Regions from separate parts of the Homo sapiens genome. Here regions 1, 2 and 4 are each linked to region 3. The links are contacts of gene promoters, found by promoter capture Hi-C in blood cells and fetal thymus (Javierre and others, 2016). All regions are on one chromosome and are shown on one strand. The core of a region is centred on a gene start or on the middle of the fragment in contact, and the rest is flanking DNA. Distances in the headings are between cores, read along the strand shown.

Region 1 (2,751 bases), core at 19-2,518, 300 kb before region 3:
ACCCACAGAATAGAAGAAAATATTTGCAAACCACTCATCTGACAAGGGTGGTTAATAATCAGAATATATAAGAAGCTCAAACAACTCAATAGGAAAAAAAATCTAATAATCCTATTAAAAAATGGGCAAATGATGTGAATAGGCATTTCTCAAAAGAAGACATACAAATATCAAACAGGTATATGAAAAAATGCTCAACATCATTTATCATCAGAGAAATGCAAACCAAAACCAAAAGGAGATATCCTCTCACCCCAGTTAGAATGGCTGTTATCCAAGAGACAGGCAAGAACAAATGCTGGTGAGGACAGAGAAAGGGGAACCCTCCTACACCGTTGGTGGGAATGTAAATTAGTACAACCACTATGGAGAACAGTATGGAGGTTCCTAAAAAAACTAAAAATAGAACTGCCATATGACCCAGCAATCCCACTACTAGGAATATACACAAAAGAGAGGAAGTCAGTATATCAAAGAGATATCTGTCCTCCCATGTTTACTGCAGTACTATTTGCAATAGCCAAGATTTCAACTCAACCTGAGTCTATCAACAGATGAATGGATATAGAAAATGTGGCACTTATACACAATGGAATACTATTCAGCCATAAAAATGAGATACTATCATTTGCAACAATATCGATGGAATTAGAGGACATTATGTTAAGTGAAATAAGCCAGGCAAATTAAAAAAAAAGACATTTTGCATGTGCTCACTCATTTGTGGGAGCTAAAGATTAAAACAAGCGAACTCATGGAGACAGAGTAGAATGATGGTTACGAGAGGCTACAAAGAGTAGCAGGGAGGAGGGTGGAGAGTGGAGATGTTTAGTGGGTATAAAAATATAGTCACATAGAATGAATAAGATCTAGTATTTGATAGCACAACAGGGTGACTCCAGTCAACAATTTACTGCATATTTTAAAATATCCAAAAGGGTGGAATTGGAGTGTTCCTAACAGAAAGGGACAATAAATGCTTGAGGTGGTAAACACTCTATTTACTTTGATGTGACTATTATACATTGTATGCCTGTATTGAAATATAACATGTACCTCATAAATATATACACTTATGAGCTCATAAAAATTAAAAATATTCACCCCCTTTTCAACCAATACATGTGTGAGGTTGGATTTTCTTCATGCTTCAACCAAAACAAAGTATATTCCTGATGTGACTATAGTAGGGGTGCGATAGACATACTTTTCACAAAATGATAGCTGGAGAACAAAGTTCAGGAAACGAGCCAAAACCATGCAGATTTGTCTTTTTCCATAAATCCAGTCAAAACAAAGTATCACAACAGATGGAATGTAGAAGCAAACTTGAGAATCCACCTGTCTTCTATTGAGCCAGACATTACAGAGATTTGCAAAAAGTTGTAAATTTGCCAAAAAAACCTGTTTTTTTTGTTTGGAAAAGATTTTTTTTTTTTTTTGGAGACGGAGTCTCACTCTGTCGCCCAGGCTGGAGTGCAGCGGTGTGATCTCGGCTCACTGCAAGCTCCACCTCCCAGGTTCAAGTCATTCTCCTGCCTCGGCCTCCCAGGTAGCTGGGATTACAGGCGCATGCCACCATGCCTGGCTAATTTTTTAGTAGAGACGGGGTTTCGCCACGTTGGCCAGACTCGTCTTGAACTCCTGACCTCAGGTGATTCGCCCGCCTCTGCCTCCCAAAGTGCTGGGATTACAGGTGTGAGCCACTGCACTCGGCTGTAAAAGACTTTTTATAGAAATATGTAATTATGTTAATACATCATGGTCTTATCATTGTTATTTTAAATGAGTTGACATATATATTTTAAATCTCAGTTTTAATTTCTAATACAATGACTACTGATAGATATAAACCAAATAAGCAAAAGCTGTTCGGTTCCTTGAAAATTTTTAAGGATCAAAGAGTTCTCAGACCAAAAAGTTTAAAGAAGCACTTAGACCATTCCCATCCTCACAGGCAACTACTGATGTAGGAAAACCCTATGGAGAGAGTGAGCGCTAAAACAAGAGGCTTCCTAAATTCCCAAGCTGGTTAGAACTGAAGCCTCAGTGGTAATTCCAAATCAGGGATCTCCAAAACACCATGCTATTGTGGTAGCTTGGCTTGGTGCTGTCTCTAGCAAAAGTAAAAGAAAAAAAAAGAGCTTTATAATAGGTGGGAGGAAATGAGAATATTCATAAAGCAAAGAGACTAACCAAGTGCTGGGCCAAGTCCATCAAATGGTCAAAAGTGAGGCGTGGAGGGAAAATTCTGTTGAAGATGAGAAGCAAATGGCAGACAAGGGACTCACTGAAAATCATTTGCATGTTTGTTCTTTTAAACTCTGAATTTCTGCATCTGAGAATTCTGCAGTGTCCATCCTTGACTGCAACCCGTCACCAGAACTATAAGTAATAAAGCATTAATAACATGGGAGCTGCTCTAAGGTTTCTTTTACCATTTTTTTTTTTAATTTTTTAAAGAAATTGCTGTTGTTTTAGTTCTTGGCATTCCTTCATCTTCTGCCACTCAAGTAGAGTTGCAGTAAGGTAAAATTTGTAATAAGCAAAACATACTCAAATTTGGGGCTCTGCTGTTCAAGCTTAAAATGAATTTAATATCTTTAGAAAGAGGGAAAGTGAAATCATCAAAACAGCCTAAATAAACTTAAAAACTCTTCTTTACAGAAAGGCTATTTTAAACCCAAACAAGCTCATAACAAGAACAATGGATTGTAAGTTCTAACACTCTCAGACTGAAGGCTGAACTGG
Region 2 (2,942 bases), core at 406-2,905, 340 kb before region 3:
CACACACACACACACACACACACACACTGCTCCCGCCTCCCAAGGGTGAGGGATTGTGTGTGTGTAGTATTTTCTACATTGTTTCCTAATTATCTCTGGCATTAGATTTTCAGCTAAATAAAGGTATGAACTATGTTTGGTAAATTTTTGCTAATCAATAAATTTGAAATTAAGTTTAAAACAGGAAAATAGCATTTTGGTAAAATATATCTTGAATTGGTCTTCTGAACTTTGTTTTGATCTTTGTGTCATCAGAATGTAGAAAATAATTTTGTTGAGTTTGAGGGGAAGGAAAGCTTCAAATATAGAAAAGCTAATTGTTTTTAAATTATAGGTACTTTCTATTGTGTGTAAACTACTTTTTCTATGGAGAGACTGTAGCTGATTATTTTGCTACATTTGTTCAAAGAGAAGAACAACTTCAGTTCCTCATTCGCTACCATAGATTTATATCATTTGCCCTCTATCTGGCAGGTAAGTTAAGGAATATTCTGTATTGATATATAGTTAACATATTTTCCATGTTTATTTTTATTTCTGTTATTTTAATTAGTAATTTTTTGGTTAAATTTTATTCCAGCCTCTCTTTTTCATTGTTTCTTGTGTATAAAGCTATTTCTTTCATCATGTTCTTAAATAGCAATTACTCCCTTATAGTGGGTTTAAAAAGTGCTTGTTAAGAATCACTCCAGGCCGGGTGCGGTGGCTCACTCCTGTAATCCCAGCACTTTGGAAGGCTGAGGCAGGTGGAACATCTGAAGTCGGGAGTTTGAGACCAGCCTGACCAACATGAAGAAAGTCCGTCTCTACTAAAAATACAGAATTAGACGGGCATAGTGGCACATGCCTATAATTTCAGCTACTCAGGAGGCTGAGGCAGGAGAATCGCTTGAACCTGGGAGGCAGAGGTTGCCGTGAGCTGAGATCACGCCATTGCACTCCAGCCTGGGCAAAACTCTTATCTAAAAAAAAAAAAAAAAAAGAAAGAATCACTCCATATGTTTGAAAATTTTCTTTGCAAATTGTAGTAAAAAAACTTTTAAGTAAATAAAAATTATTAACCAAATTTAATTTATGAAAAAACTTTCACATATATATTGCTTTATTTGTCCCTAGGAAATAGAGCTTTTTCATGTAGAACTAATCAGGGTAATTAGTTGTTTTTTTTTTTTTTTTTTTTTGAGATGGAGTCTCACTCTGTCGCCCAGGGTGGAGTGCAGTGGTGTGATCTCAGCTCACTGCAAGTTCCACCTCCCAGGTCCACGCCATACTCCTGCCTCAGCCTCCCGAGTAGCTGGGACTACAGGCCCCCGCCACCACACCCGACTAATTTTTTGTATTTTTAGTAGAGACGGGGTTTCACCGTGTTAGCCAGGATGGTCTCAATCTCCTGACCTCGTGATTCGCCTGCCTCAGCCTCCCAAAGTGCTGGGATTACAGGCATGAGCCACCGCGCCTGGCCTAATTAGTTTTTTAGACATAGTTTATAATATATGCAACTGTTTATAGTATGCTATGCCACATGTTTTTGTAATTTTTAAATTAAAAATTAGATTCTTAAGATAAAGTTAGAATTTACAGATATCTTTTCTATGAAATTTTACAGATCATAAAAACCCCTAAGCAATTGATTTTTTTAAATGTGCTTTTTAAAAGCCAGATTGCTCATTTGAATTCTGGACCTACCAATTACTGGTTGAGTAAACAGTGAGATATTTGGGCTGGGCGTGGTGGCTCATGCCTGTAATCCCAGCACTTTGGGAGGCCAAGGTGCACGGATCACCTGAGTTTGGGAGTTCGAGACCAGCCTGACCAACATGGAGAAACCCCGTCTCTACTAAAAATACAGAATTAGCCGGGCATGGTGGTGCATGCTTGTAATCCCAGCTACTTAGGAGGTTGAGGCGGGAGAATCGCTTGAACCCGGGAGGCGGAGGTTGCGGTGAGCCGAGATCACACCATTGCACTCCAGCCTGGGCAACAAGAGGGAACCTCCATCTCAAAAAGCAAACAAACAAACAAAAATGAGATATTTAATTAATTTCTCTGTGCTTCAGTTTCTTTGTAAAGCACTTAGAATAGTACCTGGCACTACTTAAATTTTTTTTATTGTTATTTTCACTTTAAAAGAAGGACATGAAGTTTGTTTGTGAGTTTTCACCTTAGCTGTTACTAGTTATTGTTTTAGCTCCTAGGAGTTTCCCAATAAATGAATTTTTCTCCTGGTACAATCTTAGAAACTGGGTAATTCTTTTCCATTTCTCTTTAAAAATATACAGAGTATGTGGGGAAGCATGTCCAGTCCTGTAGAAGTATGCTATTTCATTAAATAGTTATGATGTTCTTCTTGGTGCCCCTCAGCTCCTTCAGTTCCTAGGCCTTCTAATTCTAAAAAGCCAGAAAGTGAAATACAATCTGAAATGGTAATGGGAATTTTCAGAGAACTTGTTTTTATGTAATGAGGAGGAATACATTTTCGAATAATTTTCCACCTTTTACATTCAGGTTTTTTGTTACTTTTTAAAATTTTAAATTTCATTTTATTTTCCCAGAGATTAGGTCTCCCCATGTGGCCCAGGCTGGTCTCGAACTCCTGGGCTCAAGGGATCCTTCCGCCTTGGCCTCCCAAAGTGCTGGGATTACAGGCACAAGCCACTGCACCCAGCCTTTCATTCAGGTTTATTGTTCAGTTCAGCTTTCCAAATTTGTTCCTTCATTTAAAAAAACTTTTCACTGCTATATCTATAGAAAGTACATTCCTAGAAATAGGTATTGAAAAATTTCTACTCTTTTACTGGTACTCATATGATGGTAGTTGGTCCATTTTAAATTCTGACCAGTTGGAAGGATTATGATCATGGAGAGATTATGATTGTTATCAGCTAAGAAGACCATACTAAAATTTTGGAGAGTAAAACACTTGACTCTGATTCTGTGTTTAT
Region 3 (2,719 bases), core at 18-2,517:
GTCCTAACTTCTTGGGAGGCTGTGGGAGAAGGATCACTCGGGCCCAGAAGTTCAAGGCTGCAGTGAACCGTGATCGTGCCACTACACCCCAGCCTGGGCAACAGGGCAAGACCCTGTCTCTAAAAAAAGAAATAAATAAATAAATTAAGAACAACTGATGTAAACTTTTAAAATTGCAAAGTTGAGCAGTGGAATTTAAGAATCTCTTCAAAGCAGAGAATCCAACTAATATTGAAATATACTGTCATTTACTTTTTCAAAAACAGATTATGCAAGAGTAGAACATTGTATTTTCTAACTTATCCCTCCTTTTTGGAGGTGATACAAATTTTTTGAAACATTTTTTTTTTTCTTTACAAAAATTGTTTTCTCTTTGTTGCCCAGGCTGGTCTCTAACTCCTGGCCTCAAGTGATCCCCCAGCCTTGGCCTCCCAAAGTGCTGGAATGACAGGCATGACCCACTGTGACCCACCAAAAGCATACATATATTTCAGATGAATCCATTTTAACTCATGGAAAGAAACTAGCAGTAGAAACCTCTTTCTAGCAGCTTGAGATAGAATGGTTCAAAGTATTAACATACTTTACTATTGCTCAAATATCATAGGAAGAGTTCTCAATTCTAATGCAATATATATTTTTAAACATAAAAACATACCAACCTAATTCCTATACTTAAGAGTCTCATGATAAAGTTTTATTTTTTTTAAAGTCGGATTTTTTTACTAGACTTATGCACTAATACAACATGTTTTTCTATAAATTAGCACATTTTTAGTTCTGTTTTATGTTATGTTTGTTACGTCGCCTGATAGTCGAAACCAGTTGTTCTCAACCTGCTACCAAATACCAACCTGGAAATATGCCACTATTTAAAAAGCCCGAAGAATAGGGTTTTGTTTTTCCTTTTTAATTGTTTGGTGTTCAAACTACATAGTAAACCAGTTGGCAACCATTACTGAACAAAAATAGTTTTTCGTATGCATGAGCACCATTTTCCAACAGAAAACACTTAACCATTTTTAAGGTACTGGAAGTCCATGCAAGGGTTCACATATGCAGTAAATATCCTTTCAATCTGGTTGTATCACATTGTTTCTGTGAAAGGAAGACCTGATATTGCAGATCTCACAATTAAATGGTAAAAATCAATGAAAAACTGCACCTGAGGCTCAAACACTAGCCAGATGGCCTTTGGTTGGAAAGGTCTCATCTGCTTCTTAAATCCCGCCGTAACTGTGAATGTTTGCGATGCCACCACATCCCCAGTACAAGAGAACTGGAGCATCTCTGGCTCCTTCCATAATCGAAGGGCTTCCAGCGTAGGGCGTAGGGGGAGAGGCCCGAAGCCCTGGAGACAGCGCCCGAGGGATGGAGGCCGCGCTCGGCTGCGCTCAGGTCCGGGTGGCTCCGGGAGCTGAGACCCCGCAGGATGCAGCGGGGGGGGGCCAGGGCCTGATCCCCTACCCCTGCGAGCCAGGGCCGCCTACGCCCCCACTGCTTCCCACAGGTAACGTCCAGCCCTCTCCTCCCCTATCCCCCGAAATATCCCGGTTCCGCTCCGCTCCGCTCGCCGCCCGTGACCCCGACCCCGACCCGTCCGCGACGGCGCCCTCCCCAGGAGGCAGCGGAGGACTAGGGCCAGGCCGCCCACCCTGGCGGCGGCGGCGGCTCCCGGCCAAGGCGGACCCTGGGGAGGACAGCAGCTGGGCCGCGGCCTGTCCCTAGGGGGAGCGGGCGCAGGGCCGCGAGTGGGCAGCGCCTCCGCCCCGCACGAACAAAGCGGCCAGGCGCGCCGGGCCGAGGCAGCACCGCCTCTCCGGGAGCGCGGGGGGCGGGGAGGATGGCGGGGGTACTCACCTGAGGGCCGGCGGAGGGCGCGGGCGGGACAGGCCCAGGAGACGGGACCGCGGCGGGCCGGGGCTCCGCGCCGAGGGCGCACGGGCTACGGGGAAGGGGCGACCGGCGCGACGTCCGCGGCGGGGCCCGGGAGCCCCGCGCCGCGGGCCGGGGGCCGGGGCCCGAGCTCGATTCTGCGGCCGCGAGGTATGGGAACCGGTCCGCCGGGCCAGGCAGCGGTGCTAGGCAGCAGGGGCAGCGACGCCGCCGCCTTTCCCTTCTCCTGCCCCCGTCCCTGCTCCGCCGCGTCCTCGTCCTCGCTGGGTCCCCGCCGCCGCCGCCTCAGCCTCGGCGCTCCTCGGGTTTCTTCTCTCCATCAAGGCCGGGCCGACCCGCAGGGACCATCCCGGAAAGTGAGGGGTTGTTGCCGTTTCCCGCAGCTGTTGGTGGCCATCTTTAATCCTCCTCCTCCTCCTGCTTTCTCCACCTCCCGCTGGCTGTCTGACTGACTGACTGGATCCTCCTCTTTCCCCTCCTGCTCCTCCTACTGAGCCGGCCGCAGAAATTGCAGCCGCTCAGCTTCTACCCCCTCCTGCCTTTCCTTCCTCTTTCCTTACTTCCTTCCCTTCCCTCGGCTTCCCGCTCTTGCCTCACTCTCAGCGGCTGCCTTCGCCCCTGTCTGCAGACAGCGCCGCTGGATGCTCCCAGCTGGACTTCAACCCCACTCCTCTCAGTCCCTCTCCCCACTGCCTTCCAGACGCGCCTCTTCCCCGCCCCGCGCCCCTCTCTCCTCTCCCACCCCTGCCCCTCTCCGCGGCGCTCACCCTCCTCAGTCCCAGTTTCTGAAAGGACTCAGCTGAGAAAGGACAACTGGGTTCCG
Region 4 (2,700 bases), core at 98-2,597, 420 kb before region 3:
AATTCAGGAAATACAGAGAACACCACAAAGATACTCCTCGAGAAGAGCAACCCCAAGCCACATAATTGTCAGATTCACCAAGGTTGAAATAAAGGAAAAAATGTTAAGGGCAGCCAGAGAGAAAGGTCGGGTTACCCACAAAGGGAAGCCCATCAGACTAACAGCGGATCTCTCTGCAGAAACCCTACAAGCCAGAAGAGAGTGGGGGCCAATATTCAACATTCTTAAAGAAATAATTTTCAACCCATAATTTCACATCCAGCCAAACTAAGCTTCATAAGCGAAGGAGAAATAAAATTACTTACAAGAGGGATTATTTATAGATACCTCTCAAAGCTTGCACCAATATATTATTACATTATAAATCCGAAAAAAAGAGCAGAATTTCCCAAAAATGTTAGACCACAGGAGTTTTAGTACACAAACTCCAGAGCCATATGGCCTCCTTTGTTTAAATTCTGCCTCTAGTAACTGTGGCATCTTGGACAAGTCACTTAATCGTCCTGTGCCTTAGTTTCTGCATCTGAAAAGTTGCAATAGTGAAAGCACCTACTTTATTGGGTAGTTGTGAAGCTTCAATGGGTTAGCATGAGTGAAGTATTTGCAGCAGTACCTGCCTCATAGTAAACACCACAAAGTTTCGCTATTGTTAGAGCATTAGTTTTGTGTTGCTGTTATTCCTTATTCCAGCTGTCATTATTTTAGAGGACTACACATTAACATCTCAGTGATCTAGAACAAATGGAGCAATGTGAGAAACTGTGCTGTATCTTGATCAGTAGTTACCCAACCCAGTGAGTCTGAAAACAACAGATTGCTATCCCTCCCACGTGAGATTCTGATGCAATTGGTCTGTGACAGAGACCAGGAATTTAAGACCTGTATTTCAGAACTCTAGGAAACTTTTTCGCCTCAGCATGTGAGAACTTTAGAGGTTTAATGAAAGACAAGAGGCTAGAATCCCACAATGGCTAGTGGACTTAATCCATGGCACCACCAATTGAACAGTCTGTTAAACTACTCATTTATTGTAGTGGTTTAAGGCAGTTGCAAGGAAACATGAGTGAGGCCTTCCAAAAGGGTTAGTAGTATCTCATGGTCCAGAGCAGTGTGGGGAAGGGCAAAAAAATGGATAAGAGGTATGAGAAGAGACAATAAAATAACTTGCACCAAAGATAAATGCATTTCACTGTTTTCTAGATATTGTCAGTGTCCCTGCCACACATGTTATACCATTTTGCAATCCTAACAGCAACAAGCAATAGTGACTGTTTCTCCAAAGTCTCCCCCACAGAATGAACTATTGCACCTTTGGCTTTCTGCCTATCAGGGTGAAATATTGTATGTTAGTATAATTTTAATTTGCATGCCCTTAATTTGCATATTCTCTTTATATGTTTAGGTCTATTTGTATTTATTTTTTTGTAAACTATATGGCTTTGAATTCTCTTTGTCACAAGTGTAAGCTGTTCCATAACAGCTTATGCTATTATGGGCTATGTTCATAAACCACTCAAAGAGCTACAGAAAATAGAATGAAGTATAGTCCTTTCATGATCACTTGCCCTTCTTATTGCTAAAAGAACCAACAGAGCACCAAAGAGACCTTATAGCTGTTCCTCAACTGGAGTAGACCAGGCTATTCCCTAGTTCACCCTGGTAGCAACAGCCAGCTTTCTTCCTCAGACAAACCAAAATATCATAAGTCTCTTGTTTGGAGAAATGGGAGACTTGGTCCATATGTTTAAAGGGTCTACATCATTTGCCATTTTCTTAATCTTGGAAGGAAACATAGATTGACTTCAAAATGTTATATTTTTTCATGTAACAAAGAGAAATGTCATGATGAATCAAATGAATCAAAAGATCAATTTCACACAATTGTGGTATTTTGTAAACTGAATATGGATACTTAACATATTGTGAAAATTAAATTGCTTGTGGTACTTAAGCATTGAATTAATTAAAACTCCTCTAATTCAAAAATGTTATCTATCTGCTAAGCACAATATATTTATATAAGGTCTGAAAAAAATAGCCCTTATTTTTAATTATGTTTTGTTATTGTGTTAAAGTTACACTGGCCAACAAAATTAGAACTTAGTTATTACACTTGATGGAAAAGCTTATGTCATCCATAACTACAATTGAACCCAACATGGGAAAAGCCACTGGTTTCAGCTGATATGGAATTAATTTATACTCTGAAAAGCTTACTAACTGGAAGGTACTTGAAAGTTATTATATTGATTATAATATCTTGAATATCAAAAATAATGGATTTTTTTCCTGAGCACACACATATTTTCTTTCTCTTTTATTCCTAATGCAGGGGTAAGCAGAAAGGACACTATTATCTACCCACTCCGCGTGGGCTCTCATCCAATTAAAGGGACACAGACCCTAAAGAATGATCATACAAAACACTAAATATATCATTTCCCATTAGCACAGCACACATCTTATTCCTGGTAGTAGAAATTAGGCCATGCTAATGTGAGAGTCTAATAATGAGAGCATAAGAACTAATACACATCACTAAGATGAGTTTCAAGTTTCCAAGAATCAACCTAATTCTCTTTATAATATGCAAACTGGTAGAAGATGCTAGGAGGCTTTTGGCGAAAGAAAAAGAAAGAGTAGAGTGATGGTTAATTTTACCTGTCCACTTGGCTGAGCCACAGTACCCAGATACATGGT

The links. Contacts are between HindIII fragments. The CHiCAGO score rates a contact against its expected background, and 5 or more counts as called.
Region 1: a contact is called between a fragment that was not itself captured here and the fragment with the promoter of WDFY3-AS2 in region 3, in 2 of 17 cell types (neutrophils and endothelial precursors). The highest score is 6.3, in neutrophils.
Region 2: a contact is called between a fragment that was not itself captured here and the fragment with the promoter of WDFY3-AS2 in region 3, in 1 of 17 cell types (erythroblasts). The highest score is 5.6, in erythroblasts.
Region 4: a contact is called between a fragment that was not itself captured here and the fragment with the promoter of WDFY3-AS2 in region 3, in 1 of 17 cell types (erythroblasts). The highest score is 5.4, in erythroblasts.

What each region holds. Positions count from the first base shown.
Region 1 is chr4:84,666,292-84,669,042 of GRCh38, forward strand. No RefSeq gene overlaps it. Among named protein-coding and RNA genes, the nearest start is that of CDS1, 85 kb to the left of the region's middle. The HindIII fragment of the contact is 2,623 bases long and covers 1-2,580 here.
Region 2 is chr4:84,619,060-84,622,001 of GRCh38, forward strand. CDS1 (CDP-diacylglycerol synthase 1) reads left to right here. Exons shown (of 13, transcript NM_001263.4): 5 at 335-474. Among named protein-coding and RNA genes, the nearest start is that of CDS1, 37 kb to the left of the region's middle. The HindIII fragment of the contact is 2,723 bases long and covers 295-2,942 here.
Region 3 is chr4:84,964,349-84,967,067 of GRCh38, forward strand. It overlaps WDFY3-AS2 (WDFY3 antisense RNA 2), which reads left to right and starts at 1,268. Exons shown (of 4, transcript NR_152775.1): 1 at 1,268-1,510. WDFY3 (WD repeat and FYVE domain containing 3) reads right to left here and starts at 2,342. Exons shown (of 68, transcript NM_014991.6): 1 at 1,861-2,342. The HindIII fragment of the contact is 8,814 bases long and covers 1-2,719 here.
Region 4 is chr4:84,546,581-84,549,280 of GRCh38, forward strand. All of the region lies in intron 3 of LOC102723338 (a long non-coding RNA gene), which reads right to left. Among named protein-coding and RNA genes, the nearest start is that of CDS1, 35 kb to the right of the region's middle. The HindIII fragment of the contact is 1,552 bases long and covers 572-2,123 here.